Regions from separate parts of the Homo sapiens genome. Here regions 2, 3 and 4 are each linked to region 1. Evidence: promoter capture Hi-C in human tissues and cell types (Jung and others, 2019). All regions are on one chromosome and are shown on one strand. Each heading gives the region's core, a stretch centred on a gene start or on the middle of the fragment in contact. The rest is flanking DNA. Distances are from core to core; before and after follow the strand shown.

Region 1 (2,652 bases), core at 96-2,595:
AAGATAGTGAAGATAAATTTTGTGTACCATTTTACCACAATTAAAAATATTTTTTTAAAAGAACTCAAAGAAGCAGAAAGTTTCAACAAAATAACATTTTTTTTTTTTTACATCCAGCAAGTCCTTGGCAAAGAACTCTCATCAAGAACCAGCTGCACTGAAGCAGGGAAAACAGAATCCAAACGGCAGATTCCATCAGATTTTGAGACAAGATGACCATAGATACCGACCATGTAGGGTCCTCCTTCTTTCGTGCCTGAGTCACCCCAATCCCTCCCACGAATGGTCTGGAAGTGTCTGTGTTACTTCTAACACGTTCCAGCAATTAAAGCGCCCCAGAAACAAGTAAAAGCCTGTAAGCCCTACAGATCCCATGCTTCATTTGCATCTTCCGTGTGGAATCCTTTTGTACCACTAGTGTCCAACTAAAAAGCGTTAAACCTGGCTTTCAGTTCTAGCTGGTTGTGATATAACCTCTTGGTACCTCAGTGACTTCACCCATTAAAAACAAACAAAAAAAAGTATATCACTATCTCTCATACAGAATTGTTGGGAAGCCCCGCAAGAAAATCAAAATATGGCTCTCAAGATGCGGCACCCAAGCTCCCAGAGTCAGAATCACTGGGTGGGAAGTGTTGGTCTAAAATATAAATACCGAGGCCTCAATCTACTAATTCAGAACATCTTGGCATGAAGCTTGGAAATCTGCACTACTTCACAGTCTCCTTAAAATTTTTACACGACAGAAATTTGAAAAACACTGAGTAGAGAACTATATTCTAGAATGGTATAAGCTCTTAAAGAGCTAATGTTGGTTCCTCAAAGGTAGAGTCCACGGCCAGATTCCATTATAGGAGACCAAGCCCGGACAGCAGACCCCGGGCCCTCCCCACCCCGCCCCGCCTCTGACTCGGACACCAGCCTTCTCAGACCCCGGGCACTCGGCCACCCCGCCCTGCCCCTACCCTTGGCCTCCTCCACCCTCCCCTCATCCCTCCGCCGACCCCAGGCCCACTCCGACTCGGACCCCCACCCCAGTCCTCTCCGCCCGACCGCCACGGCCCACCAGCCTGTGCCGCTCACCTGGATCTCTGGAAAAAGCTGAAGGAAGACACATCGTATGCGGCTTTGAGCAGCACCACCTTGGCCTCGCCTTTGTAGAGGACGCTGAGGCTGTACAGCTTCATGGCTCCGCGCCCTCAGGCCGCCCGCCTGCCCAGCTGCGGGACCCGTTCTCAGGGAGCAGCGCGGCCGCCGCCCCTCGGGACCGCCGCCGCCTACCGGCCTCTCAGCAGCCGGCTGCTGACGGGGCCACCGCCGGCTTCCTCCTCCTGGCTCGCAATCCACTTCCGGATCCGGTCAGCCTGGTTGAGGGTTCTCATACTCCGGATGCAGAAATGTGAGCCCGGAAGTACAATGCAGCGAGGGGCGGGATGCCACGCCTCGCGTAAGCTTGGCCCCTCCCTGCTCGCCAGGTGGAGTCGGGCGCGCGGCGGGATACCGTACTGTCTTGTGCTGGGTGGTGCTGGGCCTCCCACAGCGGCCTGAACCCTTCTTTTTTTTTTTTTTCTTTTCTTTCTTTTTTTAAAGTAAGCATTTTTTTTATTATTATACTTTAAGTTTTAGGGTACATGTGCACAACGTGCAGGTTTGTTACATATGTATACATGTGCCATGTTGGTGTGCTGCACCCATTAACTCGTCATTTAGCATTAAGTATATCTCCTAATGCTATCCCTCCCCCCTCCCCCCACCCCACAACAGTCCCCGGTGTGTGATGTTCGCCTTCCTGTGTCCATGTGTTCTTATTGTTCAATTCCCACCTATGAGTGAGAACATGCGGTGTTTGGTTTTTTGTCCTTGCAATAGTTTGCTGAGAATGATGGTTTCCAGCTTCATCCATGTCCCTACAAAGGACATGAACTCATCATTTTTTATGGCTGCATAGTATTCCATGGTGTATATGTGCCACATTTTAGGAGGAGCTTGTACCATTCCTTCTGAAACTATTCCAATCAAAAGAAAAAGAGAGAATCCTCCCTAACTCATTTTATGAGGCCAGCATCATCCTGATACCAAAGGGTGGCAGAGAGAGACACAACAAAAAAAGAATTTTAGACCAATATCCTTGATGAACATTGAAGCAAAAATCCTCAGTAAAATACTGGCAAACCGAATCCAGCAACACATCAAAAAGCTTATCCACCATGATCAAGTGGGCTTCATCCCTGGGATGCAAGGCTGGTTCAACATACGAAAATCAGTAAACGTAATCCAGCATATAAACAGAACCAAAGACAAAAACCACATGATTATCTCAATAGATGCAGAAAAGGCCTTTGACAAAATTCAACAACCCTCATGCTAAAAACTCTCAATAAATTAGGTATTGATGGGACGTATCTCAAAATAATAAGAGCTATCTATGACAAACCCACAGCCAATATCATACTGAATGGACAAAAACTGGAAGCATTCCCTTTGAAAACTGGCACAAGACTGGGATGCCCTCTCTCACCACTCCTTTTCAACATAGTGTTGGAAGTTCTGGCCAGGGCAATCAGGTAGGAGAAGGAAATAAAGGGTATTCAATTAAGAAAAGAGGAAGTCAAATTGTCCCTGTTTGCAGATGACATGATTGTATATCTAGAA
Region 2 (2,652 bases), core at 71-2,570, 240 kb before region 1:
AGAAAGTTAATAGGCAGCAGTCAGTCAGGGTGGACAAGGTAGGGGATGTAGAAAGGATACATACCAGGCAGCTGTTGCAGTTCAGGGGTGCATGTGCGGAAGATATAGAGATAGCACTGTGTTCTTTGGAGTGTAAGGGGCAGGCAGCAGGAAGGGTCAGCCAAAGGAAACCAGTGAGTTGGAGGAGAGGGAGAACAGGTGGAGGTGGAGCAGAGGGAGAGCCTGGGTAGTCCAAGGGTGGGACATTCATGTCAGATGTTGTGGAGGTATCAGATGGACAGAAATTCAGAAAGGCAAGTTTGGTTATGATACTTGGAAGTCATTTGTGATTGGCAGAGATTTCACAGTGGGGCATATTGGAAGGTAAGGTGGGAAGAAACTGACTCAAGATGTTTCGCTGGGAATAAAAGGAAGAAGGCAGCAGCCTGAACAGAAGGCTGGTTGAAAGAAGAGTTGTGAGTCCTTGTGTTTGACTGATTTTAAGGAAGAGTGAGGCATGAGGCAAGGTATCAGTGGGTAAGAAGGGCTTGGGGATCCAAGAGACCAAGTGATACTTACGGCACAGGGTCTCACAGAGGGGAGTGGGAGCTTCTCCCAGGCCTACAGGACTCAGCATTACTGATAGTGGGTGCGTGCTAATTAACGTTAAAGTTGGGGTGTTATGTAAGTATTCAATTTGTAGAGGAGTTTTGCTCTGTCAAAGTAATTCTTTGCTTTACCAAAAGGACTTAGTGTAAGATTCTATTAAATAGCAAACTCGAGTTTGTTGAGGTTTTCTCTTTGTGAATGTATATAAATGCTGCACTTGTGTGAGGCTTCTCAGGGATTGGGCCCTGTCTCCCAGCCAGAAAAGCTTTCTGTTCTTTACATCCACCTTCCCCTGTCCCCAGGCCTGGGACACCTCGGACAGGTCTTGGAGGGAGCAAACCTTTGTGATTATCTGGATGCTTTCTCAGAAAGAAGAGGGGCAGAGGGGCTGCTTTACTTTTTCTGGCTTTCTCTTTTTAGATTTACAGGCCAAGGAACAGGTGATAGGATGCCTCCTATCCTATCATCTGTTGATAACCTGTGAGATGAGAAGGTTAAAGTGGCGGGCAGGGACCCTGAGTCTGTAGCCCTCCTTGCACTGGCCTGAGCCTTCTCATTCCAGAAATTCTGTTCTCAATACAGCAAACCTTCGGTTTTGCTCATAGAAAAAGCTCTAGCCTTTTCACATGATAGCGTCTTTTGAAGCTGAGAGGTATCCAAATGCATTAGTCTTAGATGAACACACCTGGAATCTCACTTTTATGAGAATTTCATAGACTATACTCTTGAATTCCAGTTGTACATTTTTGCTTGCAAACACAGGCATTTCAGAGTATAATGAGAGGAGGCTGGTGCTCATAAAGAAGACTGACTTTACAGTAAACCACCTCCCAGGAGAACTGAAGATGGGGCTTGAGCTGAGGTGGGGTCTCTTCTCCACTATCCCGAGCAGCACCTGGGCCCCAGGTCTTCACCTAGACAGTCAAGGACCTCAGCCTAAACAGCATCCAGCTCTTAGAAGTCCTGTGAAATTGGGCCAGGCACTGTGGGTCACGCCTGTAATCCCAGCATTTAGAAGGAGGCTGCGGCAGGTGGATCACTTGAGGCCAGGAGTTCGAGACCAGCCTGGCCAACATGGCGAAACCCCGTCTCTACTAAAAATACAAAAATTAGCTGGGTGTGATGGTGCATGCCCGTAATCCCAGCTATTGAGGAGACTGAGGCAGGAGAATTGCTTGAACCCGGGAGGTGGAGGTAGCAGTGAGCCAAGATGGCGCCACTGCACTCCAGCCTGGGCGACAGAGCGAGACCCCATCTCAAAAAAAGAAAAGAAAAAAGAAAAGAAAAAAAAAGATTTCTTGTAAAATTGAAAACAAAATTCAGACTTTGGCTACTTGAATCTTGTTTAATGTAATAGGAAAGCTGATAATTTAAAGGTAACAAGTTGTGGAATGTCTTCTTTAAGATTAGCATGCAGTCTCATTGTACCTGTTACCTGTTCTTTTTTTTTTTATATTGAATGTGTTCAAAGCTCATCCCACCTGTATGCAGAGTGTGTTAGAAACTGTGCTGGATGTGGTTGTTCTCTTTCTAGAAGGTAGGGCTCCCATGACAGCCATATAGGTTCTCTTGGTTGCATAAGTAAACATAAATAAACCAGTAAACAAAATGCCTGCTTTCTGTGTGAATACGTTGTCATTTGATGTCATGGTGTTAAGTATGAAGGTGCTATAAAGAAAAGGGGAGGCCAGGTGCGGTGGCTCACCCCTGTAATCCCAGCACTTTGGGAGGCCAAGGTGGGTGGATCACGAGGTCAGGAGATCGAGACCATCCTGGCTAATACGGTGAAACCCCTTCTCTACTAAAAATAGAAAGAAAAAAAATTTAGCCAGGCGCAGTGGTGGGCGCCTGTAGTCCCAGCTACTCGGGAGGCTGAGGCAGGAGAATGGCGTGAACCCGGGAGGCGGAGCTTGCAGTGAGCCGCGATAGCGCCACTGCAGTCCGGCCTGGGCCAAAGAGTGAGACTCTGTCTCAAAAAAAAAAAAAAAAAAAAGAAAAGGGGAGAGTCCGCCCCTCTTGTAGTTAGGGAGGAAGTTCAATTTTGTTAAAGACTTGAGGGTAAGA
Region 3 (2,652 bases), core at 45-2,544, 210 kb after region 1:
CAGGGAGCAGGTGCTGCAGGGGATGGGGCTGGGGAGGGCTGTCAGGCTTGGTAAGGTGAGGGTGGGATCCTGTTGTGTGACCTGTCTGACCATGGTGCCACCCTTAGCCACCCAGAGCTTCACGGCCCCACGGACAAACCAGGACATCCCTGCTCCTGCCAACTTCTCCCAGAGGGGCTACTATCTCACACTGAGGGCCAACCGGGTGCTGTACCAGGCCAGAGGCCAGCTCCATGTCCTCCGTGTTGGCAATGATACCCACTGCCAACCAACAAAAATTGGCTGCAACCATCCCCTACCAGGACCGAGCCCCTACAGGTGAGCGGCTCTGCCAGGCCCTGGCTCCTGCCCGCATGCACCCAAGCCGGAGCCTGGGGCAGCTCCTACGAGGCTCACCAGGGCCCCAGCAGGATGCCTGGGTCCCCTGCTCCTGCTTGGCCAAAGGGAAGAGGAAGCAGCAGGCAGGGGCTGGGGAGGCCTTCATGAATTACATGAATTATCCTTCTTTTTTTTTTTTTTTCCTTTTCTTCTTCTTCGTCGTCTTCTTCTTCTTCTTTTTTTTTTTTTTTTTGAGATGGAGTCTTGCTCTGTGACCCAGGCTGGAGTAGAGTGGTGTGATCTCGGCTCACTGCAACCTGTGCCTCCTGGGTTCAAGCGATTCTCCAGCCTCAGCCTAACGAGTAGCTGGAATTACAGGCATCTGACACCACACCCGACTAATTTTTGTATTTTTAGTAGAGACAGGGTTTCGCCATGTTGGCCAGGTACCTGCCACCATGCCTGGCTAATTTTTGTAATTTTAGTAGAGATGAGGTTTCACCATGTTGGCCAGGCGGGTCTCAACTCCTGGCTTCAAGTGATCTGCCCACCTTGGCCTCCCAAAGTGCTGGGATTACAGACGTGAGCCACCATGCCTGGCCTATCCTGCTTTTCTTGAGCAGAAGGTTCCCCACCTCAAGCCCCAGTCCCCACAGGCCATGTGGACCACTCAGGTGGCGTCTCTCCATCCAGACAGGGTCTCCCCTCACTAAATGCTTGATTCACGCATGTTCAGTTCTGAGAGATCTAATACTCACCCCCTACCTTTCCCAAATGAGGACACAGAAGCCCAGAGAGGGGGAGGGACGTCACACCACTGGAAATGTCACACCTAGATTTGAACCCATTCTGTTGGGCTCTTTCGCCCCAGCCTCCGGCCCCCTCCCCGGGCTGCTCTCGCCAGGGCCTGGGACTCCAGGGGACAGACTTGCAGGCACCAAGTCTGATGGTTTCAGGACTCCGGGGGACCCCCATGGCCAATGCTGGGTCTCCCATTCAGGGTGAAGTTCCTGGTGATGAATGACAAAGGACCCGTGGCTGAAACAAAGTGGTCCAGCAACACTCGCCTGCAGCAAGGTAGGGGCCAGAGGCTCCGGTCAAACAGTAGGGGCAGGGGGCTGGGGCCTGGGGGTCCTGAGGACTGAGGATGGGCTGGGGGAACAGGTCAGCTCACCACTCAGTCAGAGGCAGCCAACCATCTTGCAATCTGCAGGCGCCCCTCCCCCAGCCACCCCCTTCCCCCAGGCCTGGGTGGTGGTAGGGGAGGCAGGGCGGTGATTGGTCTGGATTCTGCCCAAGGGCCCCTTCCGGTCAGGTAAAATTTCTTTTCCTGCCCGCCTATGCGGCCCCCATCACTGCCCTCAGCCCAGGCACTTCGGGCTGTCCCTGGCCCCCAGAGCCCGGGCACCGTGGTCATCATCGCCATCCTGTCTATCCTCCTGGCCGTCGTCCTCACGGTCCTCCTGGCTGTGCTCATATACAGCTGGTGAGTGGACCGGGCTGAGACCGCCCATGCCTCTTGGGAGGGGCGGGGCCCTTGGGCATTAACCCCTCCCTCTCTAGTTCCTCCCCGCCCGCCCCTGCCCACCTTCCAAGCGGGTACTGTGCACCCCCTGGTGGCAGCATCTGGGATTGCAAGTGGTTGCCGCCTGCGGACACCCCAGTCGGGGAGGCGCCCAAGGAGGAGGTGAATTGCTTTCACACCAAGCTCTGAGCATTGCCTCAAGACGCCATACAGGCCGGGTGCAGTGGCTCACGCCTGTAATCCCAGCACTTTGGGAGGCTGAGGCCCGCAGATCACCTGAGGTCAGGAGTTCAAGACCGGCCTGGCCAACATAGTGAAACCCCAGCTCTACTAAAAATACAAAAAATTAGCTGGGTGTGGTGGCACGTGCTTGTAATCCCAGCTACTCAGGAGGCTGAGGAAGGAGAACGGCTTGAACCTGGGAGGTGGAGGTTGCAGTGAGCTGAGATTGCATCACTGCACTCCAACCTGGGTGACAGAGTGAGACTCCATTTAAAAAAAAAAAGGGGGGGGTGTCAGGGTTTCATACAGAGCTCAGGTGCCTGAGCCTGGGGCACAGAGAGTGTCCACAAGGCTTCCTAGAGAAAAGGGGAGACCTAGCCCTGGTGGGATTTGGGGAGGAGGGGGAGAGGGAGTGATAAAAAGGGGGTGGGGAGGTGTGGGGGCAGGAGGGGCAGGAGGAGCAGGAGGGGTGCATGCAGCCAGGCCAGGCAAGGGGCCCCAGGTGCCTAGCTGAGGAACTGGGCTGTATCCTGCAGCCTATGGGAGCCGGGAGTGGGTTTTGATCAGGGGAGACAGGCAGATAATGT
Region 4 (2,652 bases), core at 103-2,602, 180 kb before region 1:
CTTAGGGGTTGTTTCCCATCTGGTCTGAATGCACTGGGCAAGATCTCAATACAGCTTTAGAAATCCTGTAAGATTTTGACCAGTGGGGAGAAAAAGAATGTAGCTATAGATCTTACATCCTTTCAAACAGGTTCTGGAATTCTGTAGTTACTGGAAAGCTTAGGGTGAGTGCAGAGTTGGGAATGATTCCACTGAAGGGCCACCTTTGCCCACCAGGCTCCAAGGCCCTCCTTGGTCTCCAGGTGCATACCTGCTGTTAACTTTGCTGAGCCCTCGCAATGGGCTTCCTCCAGGACATAACGCCGTGTCTGACACAGAAGTCTCCCAGGTGGCTGGCCACCTGCTTCTTCCTCAGTCAGATCTTTGACTCTCCTTCTCTGTGCCCACCCCATCTCCAGCCTCCTCTGACCCTGCTCACCCCTGGGGACAGGACCTAGGGGTGTGAGAAGTACTTGGCTGAATAAAGACTGTTTCAAAGGCAATCCTTAGAATTGCCTAGCATACTCCCAGGGCCAGAAATAACCCGCCAGAAAGGAGAGGCGTATTTGCCCCTGAAGAGTGCAGGAGGGAGAACAGTTGAGAAGTGTTTTGTGTGGAAATGTGTCCAAGAGGCGTCAGCTGCTGCACAGAGAACTCACTGCCCAGAACACTGCGCTTGGGGAACAGACCTCACCCCCACCTCAAATCTGCTCTCCACTGGGCCTGTTGGCAGCCAGCTCAGCTGGGGAAGGGACAGCATGACTCGCTTTGTCGATGAAAAGCACGAAGTTGTCAGCACAGAACCTGGCCAGTCCTTGAGAAACTCCCTCCTTGGTGGTCAGAGGTCAAGCAGCCCATGTGGCCCACGGTCCTGAAGAACTGGGCTATGTCCCTGAGGCTCCTCTCTACCGTCTGACTGTGGGGTCTGGGGAACAGGCATTTAAACCAGGCTGCTGCCCTGGGGAGTGCCCACTGGACGCCAGGGTGCCCCATAGGGACAGGGTCACAAAGCCCTGGGGCTTCCCCTGCCAGTCCTGGTGAGGACAGTGTGGTCACTATCTCAGAGAGACGAAAAATGAATATTCTGTCATTTCAGACTAAACTACTCACCCAGCTCACACTAATATGGATTTGTTAATTTTACCTTTTTTTTTCTTTCCAACTTTAGGTTCAAGGGTTGTTACATGGGTAAATTGGATCATAGGGGTTTGGTGTACAGATAATTTTGTCACCCAGGTAATCAGCATGATACCTGATATGTAGTTTTTCAGTCCTCACCTTCCTCCCACTCGGTTTTATTTTTTAGTACTGAAAGTTTAACAGATTGGTCTTACCTCAGAGGGAGGGAAGAAACCCCCCCATCGCTGGGCTCCTTGGTGTGACAGGGGTCTGGTAGGGGTTTTCAATCCCACCACCCATTCCTCCACACCAAATGCCTGAAGTCCCCACTTTGCACAGGGAGACAGCATCGTGCCAGGGAAGAGAGGTCAGGCCCGGCTACCCCTCACAACTTCCTGCTTCCCCCTCAGAGGGTGATGGGGAGACCAGAGCCCATGGCAGGATGAACTGTCACTGAACCCAGCTGGCACAGGTCTGCCAGAACACTCTGGGGGTATGCGCTGGGCTTTCTGGGTAAACCCCTGGCAAGCTGGCGTTTGCTGTCTTCTCAGTGCTGATGGAGATAGGCACACATGGGGTGTGGGAATGTGGCCACCCTCAGGCAGGTTCACGAGGGTACTGTCAGGCGCTCAGGTGTATGCCGCCTCCTGTCAGGCAGGGCTGAGGCTATTCTCCCTGGAGAAGGACAGCTTAGGAAACACTTGCAGGAAAGCTGCCTGGACCTGGGAGGTGACCCTGGCCAGCCTCCCTGCTGCCTCTCTCAGTCCTAGGCCTTCTTCCCCAGAGCTGGTCAGGGCCTGAGGGACTTTGTAGTCTAACCCCTCATTGTGCTACAATCACAGGAGTAAGTAACACTCCCAAGGCCATGTGGCTGGTGACTCGGGGGGCCCAGGTCCAGGATCCTGCCCCATCTGCAGGCCAGTGGTTCCTTGTCTCCTATTTGCTTCTTGGAGCAGCCTCCTCATAAGCCAACAGCTCCTTCACCTGAGCCCAGTCACTTTGCGCTCCTCCCCAGAACCAAAGAGCAAGACCATCTGCCCCAGGTACAGTCCTGGCCATGCCACACTCTCTGTGGCATCATGACCAAGGTGAGTGGCAGATACTGAAATCATCCAGGGCCACTGCAGGCCCCATTCCCAGTGGACTGTTCATCAAGGGACCCTGTCTCAGGCCATCTCAGCCAACCTTGTTGCCCAGCACAGGTCTGGCACATTGGAGATGATCTGTGTTGGATGGGGAAGGCAGAGGGAGGATCCTCCAGCATTGATCACCCATCAAAACCCTCAACAACCCAGACATTGCCGCTGCACTGACCCCATGCTATGAGGAGGTCACTCAGGCTGTTAGGAGCCTGCTGACTCAGGCATTGGGCTGGGGCCCTGCCTGCCTTGTCTGCCTGCCAGCGGAGCACTGCCCCAAGCCCTTCTTACTGCAGAGACAGGCTCTTGCCTCCCAGTGTGCACTTTGTGCAAGACACAGGCAGGTAAGGGTCTACCAGAGGACAGGAAGTGTTGTTGGGGCACTGTGGGGTTTGGAGGAGGCCCCTCTAGCAGG

The links. Contacts are between HindIII fragments. The study calls those that stand out against the background at their distance.
Region 2: a fragment that was not itself captured here is called in contact with the fragment with the promoter of YKT6 in region 1 in 2 of the 25 tissues and cell types used here (dorsolateral prefrontal cortex and spleen).
Region 3: a fragment that was not itself captured here is called in contact with the fragment with the promoter of YKT6 in region 1 in 2 of the 25 tissues and cell types used here (lymphoblastoid cells and mesenchymal stem cells).
Region 4: a fragment that was not itself captured here is called in contact with the fragment with the promoter of YKT6 in region 1 in 3 of the 25 tissues and cell types used here (dorsolateral prefrontal cortex, lymphoblastoid cells and mesenchymal stem cells).

What each region holds. Positions count from the first base shown.
Region 1 is chr7:44,199,671-44,202,322 of GRCh38, reverse strand. It overlaps YKT6 (YKT6 vesicular SNARE protein), which reads right to left and starts at 1,345. Exons shown (of 7, transcript NM_006555.4): 1 at 1,084-1,345. The coding sequence starts at 1,187. RefSeq lists a silencer at 1,169-1,238. The HindIII fragment of the contact is 4,070 bases long and covers 1-1,825 here.
Region 2 is chr7:44,442,623-44,445,274 of GRCh38, reverse strand. The region is part of intron 2 of NUDCD3 (NudC domain containing 3); the gene reads left to right. Among named protein-coding and RNA genes, the nearest start is that of NUDCD3, 47 kb to the left of the region's middle. The HindIII fragment of the contact is 5,034 bases long and covers 1-2,652 here.
Region 3 is chr7:43,985,344-43,987,995 of GRCh38, reverse strand. It overlaps the pseudogene POLR2J4. Among named protein-coding and RNA genes, the nearest start is that of SPDYE1, 11 kb to the left of the region's middle. RefSeq lists a silencer at 1,984-2,033. The HindIII fragment of the contact is 3,948 bases long and covers 1-2,652 here.
Region 4 is chr7:44,380,817-44,383,468 of GRCh38, reverse strand. NUDCD3 (NudC domain containing 3) reads left to right here. Exons shown (of 6, transcript NM_015332.4): 6 at 1-2,652. Among named protein-coding and RNA genes, the nearest start is that of CAMK2B, 57 kb to the right of the region's middle. The HindIII fragment of the contact is 4,191 bases long and covers 1-2,652 here.